2 separate regions of the Homo sapiens genome follow, and region 1 is linked to region 2. The links are contacts of gene promoters, found by promoter capture Hi-C in blood cells and fetal thymus (Javierre and others, 2016). All regions are on one chromosome and are shown on one strand. The core of a region is centred on a gene start or on the middle of the fragment in contact, and the rest is flanking DNA. Distances in the headings are between cores, read along the strand shown. Region 1 overlaps ZBTB2 (zinc finger and BTB domain containing 2). Region 2 holds the start of CCDC170 (coiled-coil domain containing 170).

Region 1 (4,028 bases), core at 1,434-3,933, 110 kb before region 2:
AGCTGGGGAGGAGGGGGTAACAAGCGGGCAAGTGAAGACCTGCTGGAAAGTGGTCTAGAGGAGACAACTGCTAGTGGTCTACAAAAGAGATGATGGACCCAGGTGGTACTGAGAAAGATGGAGGAAATTGACAGGATTCAAAAGATATTTAGAAGGTAAAAAATCAACAGACCTGGTTGAGTCAGATGAAGGAGAATGGAGCAGATCAAAGTGTCCAAGATGACTTCCTAGACTTCTTATTTGTATAACCGCATAGATCTTGGTGCCCTCCAACAGGAGGGAACACAGGGCAAATAATAATTTGGCGGGAAGAGCAAGAGGTTAGGTTCACACATGTTGGGTTTGAGATACTTTTGAGATAACCAAGTGGAGATGCAGAGTATATGTTGGTTACACTGGTCTGGAGCTTGGAAGTCCTGACTGTGAATTGTCTGCGTCTTCAGAAAAACCATGTCCTTAAATCACTACACTGTAGTTGAGAGAGGTTAAAATTATCAACAAATAAGAGTCAGGATTGAACTCTGGTCTTCTGGGCATACAGTTCATGTTGTCTCCACTCTACTACCTTGCCCTACAGAGCATTCCTAAAAGTTCTTACTGATCGCAGTCACAAAGGGCCGACAATCAAGACATGAAACTGAAGACCTATGTAAAATCCCTAACCATTTAACACTGTATATGAACTTAAAAAAAACCCAACTAAATAAAAAACAAGTCATTTGTCTTTTCTAAATTAGAATAGTGAGCTGAGAGGAACTGAAGAAAAGTAGCACAGGAGAGAGGAGGCAGTGCCTATAAATGGGTTTTCATGGAATGCCTTCTTTCTGTATATGTATGTGTACAAAGCTTTTACTTTTCTTAAGTAAATTCAGAGACTATAAGACATACTCATGTTGAAAAAATAAAAAACACTTCCTAGAGCCAAATACAAATGACCTTTCAGATTATTTAATGCTTTGGTTTTCATTGCCACTGTTTCCTCCTTGATAACAGGACATTGACCACCTAGCTGTCACTTGCTTTCAGTTTTCATCACAGAGCACATGTGGGCTGATCCGTAAGCAACTCACTCATCCTTTTAGAAGTGCAGAAGAATGGGGCACATACAATTATGTTGTATTTTGACAACCTAAGTTCCTCCTTCATTTTCAGTGTAAGAATAGGAGATCAAAACAGCTTGTGGAAATTGTTGATTCAGTTTTTAAAGATAATAGCTGTTCTAAGACACTAAACACCACTTACACTACCCATTTCAAGGGCACTAAAAGGGTCCTCTGAAGTCCTTGATTTTATTTAAGTGAAGCATAAATGAATATTGTAATTCAAAGGACAATCAGTAACAGCAGAGGCATTACCCACAAGTAAGATTGATTCTTTCAAGTAGTTTAGACCACTTACTAGGATGAAAAGCTGATTTTTCAATTACTATTATTAATAATTAATATTGGAGGGCCCATGAAGTAAACCTGAAGGCTGGTCATTTGAATTTTAATACATTTTAAAACTGTATTTTGAAGGTAGAAAATGCATCTTATTTAGTTGTGATAATGGAGTGGCATTTTTTTCTTAACATTTCCTTAGTCAACCTTCTTCCATAGTAATTAGAAAAGAGAGAGGCATAAACAGCACTTATTTTCATATTAAAAAGCACTGCATTTGTAAAATACTCCTGTTTTCAATTATATTTTCCCTATGTTTACACTTAAATTAGTTTTTAGTTTCCAAATGTAAGTTGGGGTCATAAGGAGGCAATTCAGGGACATCTTAGGTGTCAAACAGAAGTAGATCAGAGATTTATGGCTAATAACGAGTTCATATTAAAGTAATAATTCTAAAGGCATTATGCTACAATCAACCTGAAGGAAACTTACAGATGATTACACACGGCAAAATTAAAAAATTAATCTGGGCTTGGGACAGTGGCTCACCCCTGTAATCTCAGCACTTTGGGAGGCCAAGGCGGGCAGATCACTTGAGCCCCGGAGACCAGCCTGCGCAACATGACGAGACCCTGTCTCTATAAAAAGAAAATTAGCTGAATGTGGTGGCATGTGCCCATGGTCCCAGCTACCAGAAGGCTGAGGTGGGAGGATTGCTTGAGCCAGGGAGGCTGAGGCTGCTGTGAGCCATGGTCATGCCACTGCACTCTAGCCTGCATGAAAGAGTGAGACCCTGTCTCAAAACAACAACAACAAAAAACTGATCTGCTTCTAATAATCCACCAGAGTGGAGATTGCCTTTGTTTTTTATATACCATAAAATGATTAGTAAAATTAATCTGAAGAAAATATAATCACCTAAATGTGTAGTTCAGGGTATATAACACAGGTGAGTTTCAAATGTGTTTAACTCAAAGTCTTAATAATATGTTTCAATATTTTAGAGCAGAGCTTCTGAAACTTTTTGGTGTTGGGATCCCTTAATGGTCTTAAAAATTATTAAGAACATCAATTATATGTTTATATGGATTTTAACTACTGATAATTACCAAAATGGAGAAATTTTAGAAATATTTAATTCAATTAAAAACAATAAGGCCATTACATGTTAAAGTACAGAACATTTTTATGAAAAAATAATTGTATTTTCTAAAATAACAAAGTGGTGTCTTTTTATATTTTTGCAATTCTCTTTAACAGAAGACAACTGGATTTTGCATTTACTCCTCAATTAACTCTGTTTTGGTTGAGTAGTGAAGAAAATCCAGCCTCACCCACCTATGTAGTTGGAAAAAGGAGATATATTTGAATAGCCTTTTCAGGTAATTGTGGACAGTCCTCTTTTATATTATACCAACACTTGACAAGTCTACTTTCTTAAAAGTTGGTTGTGTAATATAAAACTACATAACTGAATTAACTTTTCCTACTCTATTATAGTAATATTCATTGGTCTATCCACTTTCAACGGATCATTTACCCACTCATGATTTTTAACATCATCTGTTGGTCATTTGGAAAATATCGGCTCACTGAATTAAGCAGATCTTCTCAGTGTCAACACTGAGAAGACATTTTGTCAACACAGCGGAAAAGGCCATAACAACTTAGTATTACTGTGACAACAGTTTTGACTTCATTGAATCCTGAAAGGATCCTGGGGCTTCAAAAGGATCTGCAGACCACACTTAGACAAGCGCCGTTCAGAATCACTTTGGGGACTCAGAGAACCTAAATGACTCTCCCGGTGCAGGAGAACATGCGCACTTCATTCCAGAGGATTCTGACGCTTACCCTGCTTGGTGCAGAACTTAGCGAGTGCCCCCTGTTTAAGAGAACAGTACACTAAAATCTCTAACAAAAGTAAAAAAGTAGTTTCCCTAAGTACTTAGCCAGATACATAAAAGTATTTTTCAAATTCCTATCTTTGAATACTGAACTTTCTTAAAGTGACACTCAAAGGCATGTGATGCATACCTCAAGCATGTGAACTGGGGGTTATGAGTTTGAGCATAAATATGAGCCTCCAAGTTGGCTTCTAAAATGGATCTACATATGTTGGGCTGCCAACTCCTTGTAAGGGTTCTGTGGCTACTGATTCCATATCTTAATGGCTCTATCGGCATTGTAAAAATACTGAATCTTATTTACTATCAATTCGAAGTAATATTTTAATTATTTAATAGTTTAATTTGCTAGCACAAATTATAACCTACTTGAGCATAAAGAACGTTTTAGAAATATTCTTAGTCTAATGCTTAGAATGTTTACATTTTTTTTTTTTCTTCAGGGAAATAAAAATGTTCAGTTCCCTTTTAGGTTTTCAGTCATGTTTGGAGAGCCAAAGAGCATAAGAAAATAGGAAAAGTGATGATAAATGACCTTTCCCAGGTGCATTTGGTATTTTATGGTAAAAAAATTACCAGCAAACCAGTTCTTTCAATCTTCCTCTCCTGTGCAGGCTGGTGCCACGGGACTTGCCCAGCTTTTCCAAGTTCCTACAGGGAAAGGTGAGTGGGGCTAGGAATGAAGCACCAAGAAACAGTAAGAGCTGGAAGGGCAGTTCCCACCTCTAAAGCTGCTGATCCC
Region 2 (3,963 bases), core at 295-2,794:
TGGGATTACAGGCATGTGCCACCACACCTAGCTAATTTTTGTATTTTTAGTAGAGACAGGGTTTCACTATGTTGGCCAGGCTGGTCTCGAACTCCTGACCTCAGGTGATCCACCTGCCTCAGCCTCCCAAAGTACTGGGATTATAGGTATGAGCCACCTCACCTGGCCCCGCCTTAGCCTTCTGAGTAGCTAGGACTACAGGTGTGCACCACCATGCCTGGCTAATTTAAAAAAAAAAAAAAAAAACTTGTAGAGATAGAGTCTTGCTGTATTGCCCAGGCTGGTCTCAAACTCCTGGCCTCAAGCAATCCTCCCACCTGTTTGATTTCATGTGTCTCAAACAGCATAGGAGTCTACTAAAGGCTTTTTTCTTTTTTTTTTTTTTTTTTTTTGAGGCAGATTCTTGCTCTGTCACCCAGGCTGGAGTGCAGTGGCTCAATCTTGGCTCACTGCAACCTCTGCCTCCCAGGTTCAAATGATTTTCCCTGCCTCAGCCTCTCAAATAGCTGTATTACAGGTGTCCGCTACCACGCCCGGCTAATTTTTGTATTTTTAGTAGAGACAGGGTTTCACCTTCTTGGCCAGGCTGGTCTCAAACTCCTGACCTCAAGTGATCCACCCATCTCAGCCTCCCAAAAGTGTTGGGATTACAGGAGTGAGCCACCGCGCCTGGCCCACCAAAAGCTTTAAAGTGAGGTGAATGCAGATTCCATTTTCAGATTCTGCTACAAATTGTGGGACCTTAAACAAGTTACTCATCTTCTCTGTGCTTTAGTGTTATGATCTGGAGCCTGATCTTCATTCTACCACTTACCCTGTACATCTTGGAAATTTTATTTTATTTCCCTGTGACTGTTGCCTTGTCTTGCAGATGGATTATTCTAACATCCACTTCATAATCTTGTTTCATTTAAGGAGATTGATCATACGTGGGAAGCACTTAGAACAGTGCATGGACGAGCACGAGTATTTCATAATGAGCAGCTGTGGCTGTTACTAACACTGGTATTACTAGTACCCGTACTTCCAGGCAGGGTTGTTGAGAAGGTGAAATGAAAGAACGCACACCAGGGCAGGCTACATAATTTGTGGACCCCGGTACAGAATGAAAATGCAGGACACCTTGTTCAAAACTTCCTAAAAACGTCAAGACTGGGACAGCTGAGTATTAAACCAAGCGCAGGACCCGGACCTGCACAGGTTGCACGCTCGCAGACACATTTGCACACAGTGTGTGCTAAATAAATGCTCCGTTCACCCTTGTGAAGTTTCCTATGCCTCACTCGCGCCAGCACCGTTCACAGTGCCCACTGGCTGTATTTATCGCTGACATAAGGATGAGGCCTGGAATTGCATTCACTGCAGAGTCCCACCGGGAGGACCGACCGTTATCCCCGCCGACTCCCCCCAGGTCGCCCTGGCAGTTTCGGCCGCTCAGTTGCAGGCCCTCGCCACGGAGGCCACGCTCGGGGGTTCGGGGTCCACCCCGGCCTCCTGCGGCCGGGCCACCCTACTCGCGCGCAGCCGCGCGCCGCCGCGTCCCCGCGGTGTTTACCCGTTGCCCGAGGAGACACCCGCGCCACCCGCCGGCTCCCGGCGCCGCCGCTTCCTCAGGGCCGGTTCCGGGTCCGAGCGCGCCCCCGGGCTCGGGTCGTCATGAGCCTGGACTGCACCAGCCATATCGCGCTGGGTGCCGCTTCGCCAGCGCCCGAGGTACGGTCCCAGCCGCCGGCCGCGCGCGGGGGTGGCCCTGGGGATAGACGACCCAGGAGGGGCCGAGGCGCCCCTGATTTGCACCCTTTTCCTCCCGGAGGCGTGGGCAGAATCAGAGCAGCTCTGTGCCCGCGAGGGCTGTGGCCTGGGACTGCCAGGGCGCTGATTTCAGGAGGGGATGGGCAGGACCGGAGTTTGCGGAGCGCGTCTGAATTTTAGGTTGTGCCACTCTGCTTCTCTGACCATTTAAACCGGTGACATTCGAAAGACTGTGGCCGGGCAGTTCCTCCCCGCCACCCCTGGGAGCAAAGAATTCCTTCATTTAACTTTCCCTGCTTAGCTACTGAAGTGTGCTTCGGAGCAATTTCTGGAAAATCTGATGTGGCAGGAGGAGGGCCAGCCCGGAGTAGAGTCACCGGCCCTTTCGTTGCGAAGTAATCCAGAAACGTTGGTAATTCAGTTGTTCCTGAATGCATCTACTCATTTACTCCCAGGAGTTACTTAGGTACTGGGGACTTTCAGGTATTAGATGTACCAATGCGCGCGCGCACACACACACGAACATGCGCGCATACACAGACGCTCGTGCACACACGCGAACAGGCACATACGCGAACAAACACGGGCGCGCACACACACGAACACGGGCATATGCATACTTGGGCGCACAAGAAGATCTGGCTGGCTCAGTCTGGGTTAAGAATCCCCCTTTGGCCTTGGCATCGGGGCCCACCGGGTATCGTGTGTATTGGGAGTAGTTGCCAGAGATGGGGGAATTGTGTTCAGCTCAACTGCTAACCGCAAGTAACTCACCCAATTAGTAAATGATGGAGGATTTTTCTTTCTTTCCAAAGTTTTGGACTTTTCCTACCACGCTGTGTACTGACCATAGATATCCCTGGGGGATGTAGTGGATTCAAAACATGAGTTGGATTCTCCAACGTGCCATCGGAATTCTTCTAATATTCAGCAGCTTTGATTGTTGTTTTACATCTGACCTGTATTTAGATTTCTCTGATTCCTGGAATATTTGTGGAAAATAAGTACCACTGTGTGCAAATAAAACTATTTTTTCTTTCTTTCTAACTCAGAGGCCAGTTACTAGATGTTTTTTCTTTCATCTGACATTTTCATATTTGACTTTATTAATTTTTATCCCAATGTGGTGTCTTAACCATACATAAGTATGTGGTATTTTTATATTATTAATATATATTTTTTTTGGTGAGCCCATTGAGAGTAAATTACAGCCATCATGATTCTTTCTTTCTCTCTCCTTTTTTTCTCTTGTTCTCTCCCTCCCTCCTTTTCTTTCTTTCTTCTTTTTTTCAGACAGGGTCTCACCTTGTTACCCAGGCTCGAGTGCAGTGGCACGATCTCGGCTCGCCGCCGCCTTGACACCCCTGGGTTCAAACGATCCTCTCACCTCAGCCTCCAGAGTAGCTGGGACTCCAGGCATGCCATGATGCCTGGATAATTTTTGTGTTCTTTGCAGAGGCAGAGTTTTATCGTGTTGCTCAGGCTGGTCTCAAACTCCTGAGCTCAAGCGATCCACCTGCCTCAGACTCCCAAAGTGCTGGGATTACAGAGATGCACTACCATGCCTGGTCCCCTATGACCTTTCATCTGTAAATACTCTGGTGTGTTATCTCCTATGAATAAGGGCATTCTCTAACGAACATACAATGATCAAAATCGGGATGTTTAGCATTGTGACAATAATATTATCTAATATACACGACCTACTAAAACTTTGCCACTTGTCCCAATTATGCCATTTATTGCCAATTTTTTTTCCATCTCAGGATCACACACTGTATTTAGTTATGTCTCCAGTCTCTTCAAACCTGGAACAGTTCTTCACATTTTTTTTGTTTGTTTTTTTGTTTGTTTGTTTTTGTCTTTGATGATACTGACATTTTTGCAGAGTCCAGGTCATTCGTTTTATAGAGTAAGTTTCTCTGATTGTCCTTCGTGATTAGATTTTTGGGTAGGAATAACATAAGAGATGTTATGTCTCAGAGTATCACATCAGGAGGGGCATATATCAGCTTATCCCATTATTGGTGATGTCCCCAGCTGGTGGCCTCTGCCAGATTTTTCCCCTTTAGCAATAAATAAGAAATCATATTAGTTGAGTAATAATATTGATTCGGATAGAAATTTTTAGCATAAGTCACTGCCTACAAAAGGAAAATGTCCATTAAGCATGAGATTTTAATTGGCTTAAAATAACTAAATTTTATTGAG

Evidence for each region. The method cuts DNA at HindIII sites, captures the fragments that hold promoters and counts their contacts. A CHiCAGO score of 5 or more calls a contact.
Region 1: a fragment that was not itself captured here is called in contact with the fragment with the promoter of CCDC170 in region 2 in 1 of 17 cell types (neutrophils); the score reaches 5.5 in neutrophils.

What each region holds. Positions count from the first base shown.
Region 1 is chr6:151,384,355-151,388,382 of GRCh38, forward strand. All of the region lies in intron 1 of ZBTB2 (zinc finger and BTB domain containing 2), which reads right to left. LOC124901232 (translation initiation factor IF-2-like) reads left to right here and starts at 3,966. Exons shown (of 3, transcript XM_047419613.1): 1 at 3,966-3,983. The coding sequence starts at 3,966. RefSeq lists an enhancer at 1,108-1,267. The HindIII fragment of the contact is 3,678 bases long and covers 845-4,028 here.
Region 2 is chr6:151,492,473-151,496,435 of GRCh38, forward strand. It overlaps CCDC170 (coiled-coil domain containing 170), which reads left to right and starts at 1,545. Exons shown (of 11, transcript NM_025059.4): 1 at 1,545-1,713. The coding sequence starts at 1,657. LOC124901436 (a long non-coding RNA gene) reads right to left here. Exons shown (of 2, transcript XR_007059817.1): 2 at 3,935-3,963. The HindIII fragment of the contact is 3,463 bases long and covers 683-3,963 here.